3 separate regions of the Homo sapiens genome follow, and all the other regions are linked to region 1. Evidence: promoter capture Hi-C in 16 types of primary human blood cells and fetal thymus (Javierre and others, 2016). All regions are on one chromosome and are shown on one strand. Each heading gives the region's core, a stretch centred on a gene start or on the middle of the fragment in contact. The rest is flanking DNA. Distances are from core to core; before and after follow the strand shown.

Region 1 (3,976 bases), core at 316-2,815:
GAAAGAGAGAGGGAAGGAGGGAGGGAGAGAGGAAGGAAGGAAGGAGGGAAAGAAGGGAGGGAAGGAAAAAAAAAAAACCAAGGAACCATGTGTTGCGTGGAGACGGGAGGTCAAGAAAAGCTTCCTTGATTTGAAAAGCTTTCTTGAGTTGAAGCTGAAGCATTAAACAAATTTAACCAGGTAAAGAGAAGAGGCCGGGCGCGGTGGCTCACTCCTGTAATCCTAGCGCTTTGGGAAGCCGAGAGGGGCGGATCAGTTGAGTTCAGGAGTTTAAGACCAGAATGATTTTACAGAAAGAAAATCATTTGGTATCAAGGGGAAAACACGACCAGGACCTTGACTCTAGAGGCTACGTTCCTAAAACAGCAAGCGGGGCAGGAGGGAAGTCCCACGGAGCTTTGGAGCCACAGGAGAGGCACTTTTATCTCCCTCTTCTGGCAAACTAGGTATGAAAGGGAGAAAGAAATTTCACTCTGAGGTGCGAGCGCCGCCGGACATTTCCTGACGGCTCAGGTGGGCAGGCTGAGTGCGCGAGCGCCTCACTGGCTTCTCATAGGTACCTGGGTCAGGACGAAGCCACATAGTTCCTCGTGATGAGAAACTCACTTCTGGCACCTGTCGAGATGCCAGATTCCATGCCAAGCCCCCGAAGATTCTGACTAGTTTGGCAAAAAATGGGATCTGGCAGGTCCACTTCAAAGCAGCGCCCTCTTCCTTTTGTTGCCAAAGATCTGAGGACCACACTGCTAAACTGAGCAAGAAACATGCGTGGGTTGGAGATAGAAGTGAGAATAATGAGTTTACAAGCACAGTATTACCAACCCCCAAAAACAACCACCACGCTGGGAAAATTCCATATAATGAAACTTAATGTGTTACCTTTGGCTTCTTTGCCATAAGCAAAATATTGGGGACGGGGAGTGGATAAGGAAGTAAACTGGGTAGGTGTGTAAATAAGGACGAAAGACTGCACCATTCTTTAGATGACAAAAACAGACGTTTCTGGGAAATAAGCAAAGGAAGAGCCCCACAAGCAGCGGCCTCTGGTGGCGTGCCGTGATCGTATAGTGGTTAGTACTCTGCGTTGTGGCCGCAGCAACCTCGGTTCGAATCCGAGTCACGGCAGTACCTTGATGTCGCCTCAATTTCTCAACGTACTGAGCAGTACCTTGACGTCGCCTCAATTTTTCAACATACTGGAGTGGAGACAGTCTCGGAAAAACCCTTGCAAAATTGAATTGACTTACGATCTAATCTGTACACAAAAAACACTAGTATTCATCATGGTGCCCCAACCAGTCAGCCAAGCAGAGAGTGTCTACGCTTGTTGCCTTGTCTTTTTTTTCCCCTCTCCAAAGATTCTCTTCCCAACCCTACCCAAGCCCTACAGTCTTGTTGGCATTGGCTGTATGTGAAGAAACTGAGGTAATTTTTTTTTAATGGAAAACTTTTACTTTCAAACACTGGTAGGCATGAGGAAAGGACTGTTCAAAAGGGGATCCAGGTTTGTTGTGGAGATCTTTCTTAAAACACAAAAGACAAATTATTAATCACGCGTTTCTAAGTATCCTAGCTGGACCAATGCTGAAAAACTGTAACCTTTGATCATCTGGAGAAAATTAAAGAAATTTGAGTAATTGAAGGAATTTGGGTGGGGGGGAATAATGGCCCAGAAGAACAGCCCCCATTTCTAGCCCGTTCAGTTTCTAGAATGAGTTCTAAAGAGCCAAGTAGACTGGGTGAGGCGGGAGTGGAGGAGAGCTGATCTGAGATACGGAGGTGGCTGGAAAGAAGTAGTTGGTGCTACCTAGGACCAGTAGGAGGTGGCTGGAGACAGGCAGATCCCCAGAGGCGCTTCCATGAGCCCAGTTCTAGTTAGTAGCACAGCACTCTGAGAACACATTAATGGCACTTCGTCCCTCCTGGCCCTGGTGGAAGGTTAGTATTCAAACAGGTGTGGTGGCTCATGCCTATAATCCCAGCACTTTGGGAGGCCGAGGCGGGCAGATCACCTGAGGTCGGGAGTTCGAGACCAGCATGGCCAACATGGTGAAACCCCGTCTCTACTAAAAATACAAAAATTAGCTTGGCATAGTGGCATAGGCCTGTAGTCCCAGCTATTCGGAAGGCTAAGGCACGAGAATTGCCTGAACCCAGGCAGTGGAAGTTGCAGTAAGCCAAGATCACACCACTGCACTCCAGCCTGAGTGACAGAGTAAGACTCGGTCTCAAAAAAAAAGAATACTCATACTTTTAGCAACTTATCAAAAATTTCAGCAAAAGAGATTTGTTCTTTCCTTCTTGGGGCTAAAATAGCCCCCATTTCTTCTCCAACTGTCCATCCAGCTGACATGGATTCTGAAACTCAGAGATATTGTAATTGAGCTGAGCTGCCTTATACTGTAGGATATCATCTCTCCAACAGGTCAGGTTCTAGGCCTCTTCTCAGTAATTTAATAGCATTTGTAGTGGTTATTCATGTTCACTTGTATCACATTCTACTTCAATTTTCTTTTTAGTCTATTTTATCTTGACTCAGTCTTACAAGAGTGAAGACAGGGATCAAGTATGTATTGACCCTAAAGGATCAGTTCTTGTCAATTATTTTGCCACAAGTGAATGATAAAACTGCTAAAGCAATAAACATTTTGATCTTGCAATTCTCCAGAACACATTTTCTCAGATCTTACTGGCCTGAGTAGCAGAAATCTATGGACTCTGACTCAGAGGCTATCTCTTAGTGAGAGAGCTAGGGTCCTAGATCTATTACAGAATAAAATTGTAGTGACAAGTGAGTAATAGGGCTCAATAAAACCCATGCTGTATGATTTGCTCGAAAAGTAGAGAGCTTGCTTGGCGTGTACCATATGATACTCAGTGCAAAGCACATGTTTATCTTAGAGGTGTGAAGTTCTCTGGTTCACAATAATGTTTTGCAGCTTTGAGTGAGCATTGCTAGAAATCTGGTATAAACAGGGGAATTGTGAGATTAAAAGCTTGCATTTTATGAATGCACTAATATTGGTATGGAAGTATCTTACACAGTCTGCCAACCACATTTTCAGAAAGAAAACTGTTTTACTCTACCTATGGCATTCATGGTCTTGAAATGACTTTTTAATATTTCTATGTTTTATCATTCTCATCTCTCCATGGAAATTAATGAAAGTTACCACCTTCTAAGATTGTTCTAAAGATTTAAGGGTGGTAAATGCATGATGGCACTAGCTCAGTAAGGTACAAACAAACAAACAAAATAATAAAATAAGCCATTTTTGGAGCTAAATAAATAAATATCATTGCTACTTAAGTGGTGGAAGGCCTTCATGCAGTAGTAATATTGCAAAGACTGGTACCAGACTCAGCATCTATTTAACTTGACTACAATCCTGTGCTTCTTTGATGCTGATAAGGTAGTTCTAACAATAATAAGAAGGGTTTTGTCTGTCCTCAGTATTGAGGCTTATTTGAAGATCTGAGCAAGGCTTTTTATAAGGCGGATGTTGGCCAAAATGTTTGCTATGATAGGCCATAAGTTTAGGGAAGACACAGATGTTGTGGGAAAAGGTAGGTTCTAGAAAGAATAGCCCCAAAAGTCAGGGAATCAGGAAAAGAACTTTCCTTCTAATGTCAGCAGAAATCCGGATGAAACACTTTAAGCAGGGGTTTCGTAGTGTTAATTTCTCTCAAGGGTGCAGCAATCTATCTGTAGCCACACCACTCCAGCACCTACTTTATGTTGAAATGTCTGCTTGTATCTTGGAAAGATTTCCAAAAGGAGAAACAAAGGGCTTTTCTTCCAGGGTTTTACACATACCAAGATTTATGAAACACCTGTCAGTGAGAAACAGAAGTCGGGGAATACATAACTAAGCTTCACAAAAAACCTCAGCCAATAAAGCTGAAAAATTGGTATAACCTGGCTTTGTGATTAGCTAGGTAGTGAGTAGAGGTTCATGACCCACAGGAAATAAAT
Region 2 (3,873 bases), core at 167-2,666, 1.1 Mb before region 1:
AAGAAGCCCTTTTTCTGTTTTAACTTTTTTTTTTTTTAAGTTTTGAGACAACGTCTGACTCGCTGTCACCCAGGCTGGAGTGAGGTAGCACCATCATAGCTCACTGTATCCTTAAACGCCTGGGTGCAGGGACTAAGGGAGCGTGCCAACCATGCTTGACTAATTTACTTTTTTGTAAAACCAGTAGTCTCCAACCTTTTTGACACAAGAGACCGTTTTGTGTAAGACAATTATACCACGGACCAGGGGGTGCAGGGGCTGGGAGCAATGATTTCCGGACTAAAACTGCTCCAACCTCAGATCATCAGGCATTAGATTGTCACAAGGAGCCTGAAACCTAGATCCCTTGCATGTGCCATTCACAATACAGTTTGAGCTTATGAGAATCTATCTAATGCTGCAGCTAACCTGACAGGCGGTGGAGCTCAGTTGGTTAATGTTCGCTCACCCCTCAGCTGTGCGGCTCAATTCATAACGTGCCATGGACAGGGACCGGTTACCGGTCGGTGGCCGGGGAAATGAGGACCCCTGGTATAGATGGTAGTCTGGCTATGTTGCCCAGGATGGTCTTGAAGCCTGGCCTGAATTAATTCTCCAATCTCAAGCCTTTTCAACTCAGCTGCATCACAACTTAAACCTATAGATAACTGTCACAGAAACTTGTTTCCAGTGTTACGCCATCTTAAAATAATGTGGGTGGCTCTTAAAAGAGCCTTTGGGTTCTTTCCAAATTGGCCTCCCGGAAAGCTCTTTACTTCTTAGATGTGGCCTTTCTAACATTAACTTCATGATGTTGGGTCAATTTTGACTTCGAAGCCCTTGCCTTCACTGGGCTCTTCTGCTGTTGCTTACCCTTGGCTCCTTTAGCCTTTCTCCCGCTCCTAACAGTTTTAGGAGTTGTCGCTCTCGGCTTCTTGGCTCTCTTATTGGTTTTAGCAGTCTTTGGTGACTTGGAGTCCCTGGATAAAACCAGCTTCTTGGTCTTGGCAGAAACTGACTTTTTAGCCTTGCTTCTGGTAGATTTAGGAATCACCTTCTTACTAAGCTTAAAGGAACCGGAAGCACCAGTACCCCTGGTTTGCACCAGGATTCCCTTGTTCACTAAGCTCTTGAGGGACAGTTTGATGCGGCTGTTATTCTTCTCTACGTCGTAGCCAGCAGCGGCCAATGCCTTCTTGAGCGCAACCAAAGACATACCTACTCGTTCCTGTGACACTGAAAGGGCCTCGGTGATCAACTTGGACACAGAGAGGTTCGGCACTTTGCGACTTGCACTTATCAAGCCAGCCGGCTTCCTCCCTCGCTTCTTGGTTGGAAGTTTCTCCATAGCGGCTACACCAGCACTGGCAGAAGCTGCAGGCACGGTTTCAGACATAACAACAGAGAAACGCAAGATGTAATAACCAGCGAAAAGCATGAAACACCCGGGCGGCCTCGGGGCCTTATATAGGGTAGGGCGCGCTGTGATTGGTGCATCACCTAGGCACCGCCCCCGCCCCTTGGAGGAGGAGTATTTGTGTTTGTTTTACCCGGAAAAGTTGAGTATAACAAAACCCCTCTTTACAGAATCTCCCAGGGTCTAGTGCTGAATAATCTGCGGAAATTCATATTTGACATGACTTTTCTCTTTTTAATGAAAAATGACCCTGGATGCCAAAACTATTCGAGAAAGCCCTCGATTTTCAATCAAATTCACGGAGAGGAACAAAACTTCCCCTTTTCCTTGTAAATTAATAAGTAATCTTTGGCAGAAGACTTATTTCATCTCTTCAGAGTGGTCTTCCAAATGGATAGCTTCAAATCGGTAGAGGAAAGAAATTATTCACGCCATGATTTTTATTTAAAATTATTTATATATGTGAGGGAAGTAACACAGATCTCTTAGCTGTCTAATTGCGGAGTCAGAAGATGCTTATAGAATTGTCAAAAGACTGCAGAGGATGTCTTTATTTAGGCATGTGCAATCTAATAAATCATAATCCACAGGAACATGGGTTGTCTGTAATTAAAGGTGCTCCCAAGTCCCTGTAGCTTTATAGAGGACTCTCAAGGATGGGGTAATATCAAGATCTCACACATTATGTAAGATTGGCCATAATCAGGCCACTCTCATGACCGGTGTCCTCAACTGAGTTTTGCTTCTGGTTTCATTAATTGAAGTCCCCTCTATCCCCCTGCCCACCCCTACATCCCCAGATAAACAGACACAGTCCCTCCCCTAAATTAACTATAAAACATGAGGTAGGAACCCTAGACTCAAGAACCTACTAGAAACTACAGACCCCATGTCTAACAAGACTGGGCGGGTTGGCTGGGCGCAGTGATTCATGCCTGTAATTACAGCACTTCGGAAGGCTGGAGGCCAGGAGTTCAAGACTAGGTTGGCCTGGTCCCTACTGAAAAAAAAAAAAATTAGCTGGGTGTGGTGGCACATGCCTGCAGTCCCAGCTTCTGGGTAGACTGAAGAGGATCACTTAGAGCCCAGGAGCTTGAGGTCGCAGCTACTGCACTCCAGCCTGGGCAGACCCTCATCTCTGAATTGCTTAATTAATTAACTGAGCTGGCAGATTTGGCTGCATAGCTGTGGGGAAAGGGTTGTTGGAATAATGTCCAGTGTGCTCCCCTGAGCTTCTACTGGAACAGGTCTTTGTGAGAGGCCTGGAGATAAGAGCTTGCTCACAAAGGCTGAGGCCTTTCTGGGATGCTGAATGAGTTTAGTGTGGCCAGAGCATAGGGTCTCAGCAAAGGAAAACTCCATAAGGGCCATTTGTGAAGATCCCCAAATACTTGTGTGAAACATTTGGTAGATATTAGAAGTTTTGTTTTGGTTTGGTTTGAGACAGAGTTTTGCTCTTGTTGCCCAGGCTGGAGTGCAATGGTGTGATCTTGGCTCAGTGCAACCTCCACCTCCCAGGTTCAGGCAATTCTCCTGCCTCAGCCTCCCAATTAGCTGGGATTATAGGCGCCCACCACCATGCCTGGCTAATTTTTTGTATTTTTAGTAGAGATGGGGTTTCATCATGTTGGCCAGGCTAGTCTCGAACTCCCCACCTCAAGTGATCTGCCCGCCTCTGCCTCCAAAGTGCTGGGAATACATGCGTGAGCCGCCGCGCCCGGCAGACATTGGAAGTTTTTAAGCAGAGAATTTGTTGTATTGTTGTAGTTGTCTTGGGTTTAGATTTATTGCATAAACAATCATTTTTGAGAAGGGCCCACAGTCAGAAGTTGGGAGTCTGTTGCAATAGTCTCAGAAGAATGGCAAAGACCTTGCCTAAGGGGACAGTGTGGTAAAGGAGAGAGTCTACATTTGAAATATTTCTGAAACAAAAGCCAAAAGATAAGACTTCAAACTTCTGATTGCAAAGTGAGATAGAAAAGTTTCTTTCTCTCTGTCTCTCTGTTATACCCATACACACACACATATGCACAAACACCTGAAAGAAAAAAAAATTCAGGGAACAGGCCAGGTAGGGTGGCTCATGCCTATAATCCCATAAATTTGGGAGGCTGAGGCTAGTGGATCACTAGAGCCCAGGAGTTCACAAGGCCAGCCTAAGCACATAGCAAGACCCTGTCTCTACAATTAAAAAATTACCCGGGTGTGGTGGCACGTACCTGTGGTCCCAGTTACTCAAAAGGCTGAGGTGGGAGAATCACTTGGGCCCAGGAGGTCAAGGCTGCAGTGAGCATGATTGTGCCACTGCACTTCAGCCTGGGCAAGAGCGAGACCCTGTCTCAAAAAAAAAAAATTTTTTTTTTTTTTCCAGAAAACAATACTATCTTAAGCACCAGCACTTTAGTATATTCTACTGTGGACTAGTTCATTTTTAAAAGAACACTAGGTTGGAAATCATGAGATTGATTCCACAACTC
Region 3 (3,923 bases), core at 1,301-3,800, 1.1 Mb before region 1:
AGAAATCAAAACATAAGTCTACAAAAAAACTTGTACATAAATGTTTATAACAGCACTATTCCCAATAGCCATAAAGTAGAAACAAACCAATGTCCATCGGCTGATGAATGAATAAATAAAATATGTTGTGGTATGTCCTTATAATAGATATTATTGGTCCATGAAAAACATACATAAAAACATTATGCTAAATGAAAGAAGCCAGTCACGGCAAAGCAATATATTATATGCCTCTATGTATACTAAATGTTCCAAATAGAAAGAAAGTAGATTAAAGATTGTCTAGGGCTGGGAGGGGAGGAGGAGGAGAATGGAGGAATCTGGGAGGCGATGAATTAAGGGTACTGAATTAGGGGAACATGGTTTCTTTTTGGGGAGATAGAAATGTAAAATTTTGGTAATGGTTGCACATCTCTGTAAATATACTAAAATCCATTAATTTTTGCATTTTATTTTATTTATTTTATTTTTGAGACGGAGTTTCGCTCTTGTTGCCCAGGCTGGAGTGCAATGGCATGATCTCGGCTCACCACAACCTCCGCCTCCCAGGTTCAAGCGATTCTCCTGTCTCAGCTTCCCGAGTAGCTGGAATTACAGGTGCATGCCACCACACCCAGCTAATTTTTTTTTTTTGAGATGAAGTCTTGCTCTTGTCTCCCATGCTGGAGTGTGATGGCACGATCTTAGCTCACTGCAACCTACGCCTCCCGGGTTCAAGCGATTCTCCTGCCTCAGCCTCTAATGTAGCTGGGATTACAGTTGCCTGCTATCACGCCCGGCTAATTTTTGTATTTTTAGTAAAGACGGGGTTTCACCATGTTGGCCAGGCTGGTCTCGAACCCCTGATCTCAGGTGATCTGCCTTCCTCGGCCGCCCAAAGTGCTGGGATTACAAGCGTGAGCCACTGAGCCGGGCCAATTTTTGCATTTTACATAGATGAATTATATGGTATGCTAATTATATCTTACCAAAAATTGAAAAAAAGGAATAGTACTATCAGCCCCAATGTGCCCATCATCAATATTCTACATGTTTCCAATGTTATTGTATCTGTTTGCCTACAGTCGAGGCCCTGATATCCTGTTTGATTTTCTTGAATTGCCAAAATTTGCATACATGCTTACAAAAATAATGCCTGTTGAATTTGCTAGATATGTAAAGGTTTGGAGCAAATCAGGTGTATTAAATTTATTAATATTGTTTGAAATGTCTAAGGCAATAATTCCCAAACTTCGTTGAGGGAGAAGGAAAGCTTTTAAAATCCCATTGCCCAGGTGGCATCCCATACTGTTACTGGGAATTATGCATTGGGATGGATCCTTTAACCGAGGAGATTATTATAGCCGGAGCTCTGAACCAGCAATCTCAGTTCTTGTGATAGTGAGCAAAGAACTACAAACTAACACCAAAATGCAAGCTTAAAGCAAAGTTTATTGAAGCACAATAATACACTCTGAGGGACAGCGGGCTTATTTCTGCGAAGTGAACTCAGCACTTCTTTACAGAGCTCAAGGTGCTTTTATGGGGTTTGTGGGGAGGAGTTGAGGTTTGGGCTGTATCTGAGTGACAGGATGATGTTATTTGATTGAAGTGTATAGCTATACAATCTAAAATTAAACTGTGCATGGTCTTACCTATAATTTGTTAAGAAAAGCCTCCCAGGGATGGGGGGGCAAAACTGTATGTAAATTCTATTATAATGATGGCATGATGAACTTGGGGTGAACTTGAAGACAGGCTTTTGTGTTGTTGGGCATGTGCCACCTTAGGGAATTTCCACCTGTACCCTCCTTTCTCTTTCTCCAGGATATTTTGGCCACAGACTTTATCATAAACTCCATCCCTTAGGGTGGCATTAGGGTAGTCTTGGGCCTGAATTTAGGTGGGCCAGTGGCTGTCTTAGTGACAGCCTTTCCGCTCTCTTCTGTCATCCCCTCCCAACTGCTAATGTCTAACTACCTAACAATTACCCATTAAATCAGTGTGTCTGGGGTTAGGAGCAGGCCTCAATATGTTTAATCATTCTCCAGATAATCCCAATACTGTAAAGTTTGTGAAACACTTGTCAGATAATTCAATTATGAAGGCTGTGGAAGGTGTTTCAGTAGGATCTAATTGGTTAATGTTATGACTTAATTAATTTGAATCAAAAAACAAAATGAAAAAGCTTTATATTTCTAAGTCAAATAAGACATAAGTTGGTCTAAGGTTGAGATAAAATTTTTAAATGTATGATTGAATTTTGAAAATCATAAATATTTAAATATCTAAAGTTCAGATCAGAACATTGCGAAGCTACTTTCCCCAATCAACAACACCCCTTCAGGATTTAAAAACCAAGGGGGACACTGGATCACCTAGTGTTTCACAAGCAGGTACCTTCTGCTGTAGGAGAGAGAGAACTAAAGTTCTGAAAGACCTGTTGCTTTTCACCAGGAAGTTTTACTGGGCATCTCCTGAGCCTAGGCAATAGCTGTAGGGTGACTTCTGGAGCCATCCCCGTTTCCCCGCCCCCCAAAAGAAGCGGAGATTTAACGGGGACGTGCGGCCAGAGCTGGGGAAATGGGCCCGCGAGCCAGGCCGGCGCTTCTCCTCCTGATGCTTTTGCAGACCGCGGTCCTGCAGGGGCGCTTGCTGCGTGAGTCCGAGGGCTGCGGGCGAACTAGGGGCGCGGCGGGGGTGGAAAAATCGAAACTAGCTTTTTCTTTGCGCTTGGGAGTTTGCTAACTTTGGAGGACCTGCTCAACCCTATCCGCAAGCCCCTCTCCCTACTTTCTGCGTCCAGACCCCGTGAGGGAGTGCCTACCACTGAACTGCAGATAGGGGTCCCTCGCCCCAGGACCTGCCCCCTCCCCCGGCTGTCCCGGCTCTGCGGAGTGACTTTTGGAACCGCCCACTCCCTTCCCCCAACTAGAATGCTTTTAAATAAATCTCGTAGTTCCTCACTTGAGCTGAGCTAAGCCTGGGGCTCCTTGAACCTGGAACTCGGGTTTATTTCCAATGTCAGCTGTGCAGTTTTTTCCCCAGTCATCTCCAAACAGGAAGTTCTTCCCTGAGTGCTTGCCGAGAAGGCTGAGCAAACCCACAGCAGGATCCGCACGGGGTTTCCACCTCAGAACGAATGCGTTGGGCGGTGGGGGCGCGAAAGAGTGGCGTTGGGGATCTGAATTCTTCACCATTCCACCCACTTTTGGTGAGACCTGGGGTGGAGGTCTCTAGGGTGGGAGGCTCCTGAGAGAGGCCTACCTCGGGCCTTTCCCCACTCTTGGCAATTGTTCTTTTGCCTGGAAAATTAAGTATATGTTAGTTTTGAACGTTTGAACTGAACAATTCTCTTTTCGGCTAGGCTTTATTGATTTGCAATGTGCTGTGTAATTAAGAGGCCTCTCTACAAAGTACTGATAATGAACATGTAAGCAATGCACTCACTTCTAAGTTACATTCATATCTGATCTTATTTGATTTTCACTAGGCATAGGGAGGTAGGAGCTAATAATACGTTTATTTTACTAGAAGTTAACTGGAATTCAGATTATATAACTCTTTTCAGGTTACAAAGAACATAAATAATCTGGTTTTCTGATGTTATTTCAAGTACTACAGCTGCTTCTAATCTTAGTTGACAGTGATTTTGCCCTGTAGTGTAGCACAGTGTTCTGTGGGTCACACGCCGGCCTCAGCACAGCACTTTGAGTTTTGGTACTACGTGTATCCACATTTTACACATGACAAGAATGAGGCATGGCACGGCCTGCTTCCTGGCAAATTTATTCAATGGTACACTGGGCTTTGGTGGCAGAGCTCATGTCTCCACTTCATAGCTATGATTCTTAAACATCACACTGCATTAGAGGTTGAATAATAAAATTTCATGTTGAGCAGAAATATTCATTGTTTACAAGTGTAAATGAGTCCCAGCCATG

Evidence for each region. Contacts are between HindIII fragments. The CHiCAGO score rates a contact against its expected background, and 5 or more counts as called.
Region 2: the fragment with the promoter of H1-6 here is called in contact with a fragment that was not itself captured in region 1 in 4 of 17 cell types (naive B cells, total CD4 T cells, naive CD8 T cells and 1 more); the score reaches 5.8 in naive B cells.
Region 3: the fragment with the promoter of HFE here is called in contact with a fragment that was not itself captured in region 1 in 1 of 17 cell types (non-activated CD4 T cells); the score reaches 5.7 in non-activated CD4 T cells.

The regions. Positions count from the first base shown.
Region 1 is chr6:27,157,074-27,161,049 of GRCh38, forward strand. TRH-GTG1-5 (tRNA-His (anticodon GTG) 1-5) reads left to right here and starts at 1,054; the gene lies at 1,054-1,125. RefSeq lists a silencer at 1,165-1,214. The HindIII fragment of the contact is 2,858 bases long and covers 137-2,994 here.
Region 2 is chr6:26,106,719-26,110,591 of GRCh38, forward strand. It overlaps H1-6 (H1.6 linker histone, cluster member), which reads right to left and starts at 1,417. Exons shown (of 1, transcript NM_005323.4): 1 at 694-1,417. The coding sequence starts at 1,375. The coding sequence ends at 752. The HindIII fragment of the contact is 5,524 bases long and covers 1,044-3,873 here.
Region 3 is chr6:26,084,879-26,088,801 of GRCh38, forward strand. HFE (homeostatic iron regulator) reads left to right here and starts at 2,551. Exons shown (of 6, transcript NM_000410.4): 1 at 2,551-2,638. The coding sequence starts at 2,563. It also overlaps HFE-AS1. The HindIII fragment of the contact is 3,203 bases long and covers 2,166-3,923 here.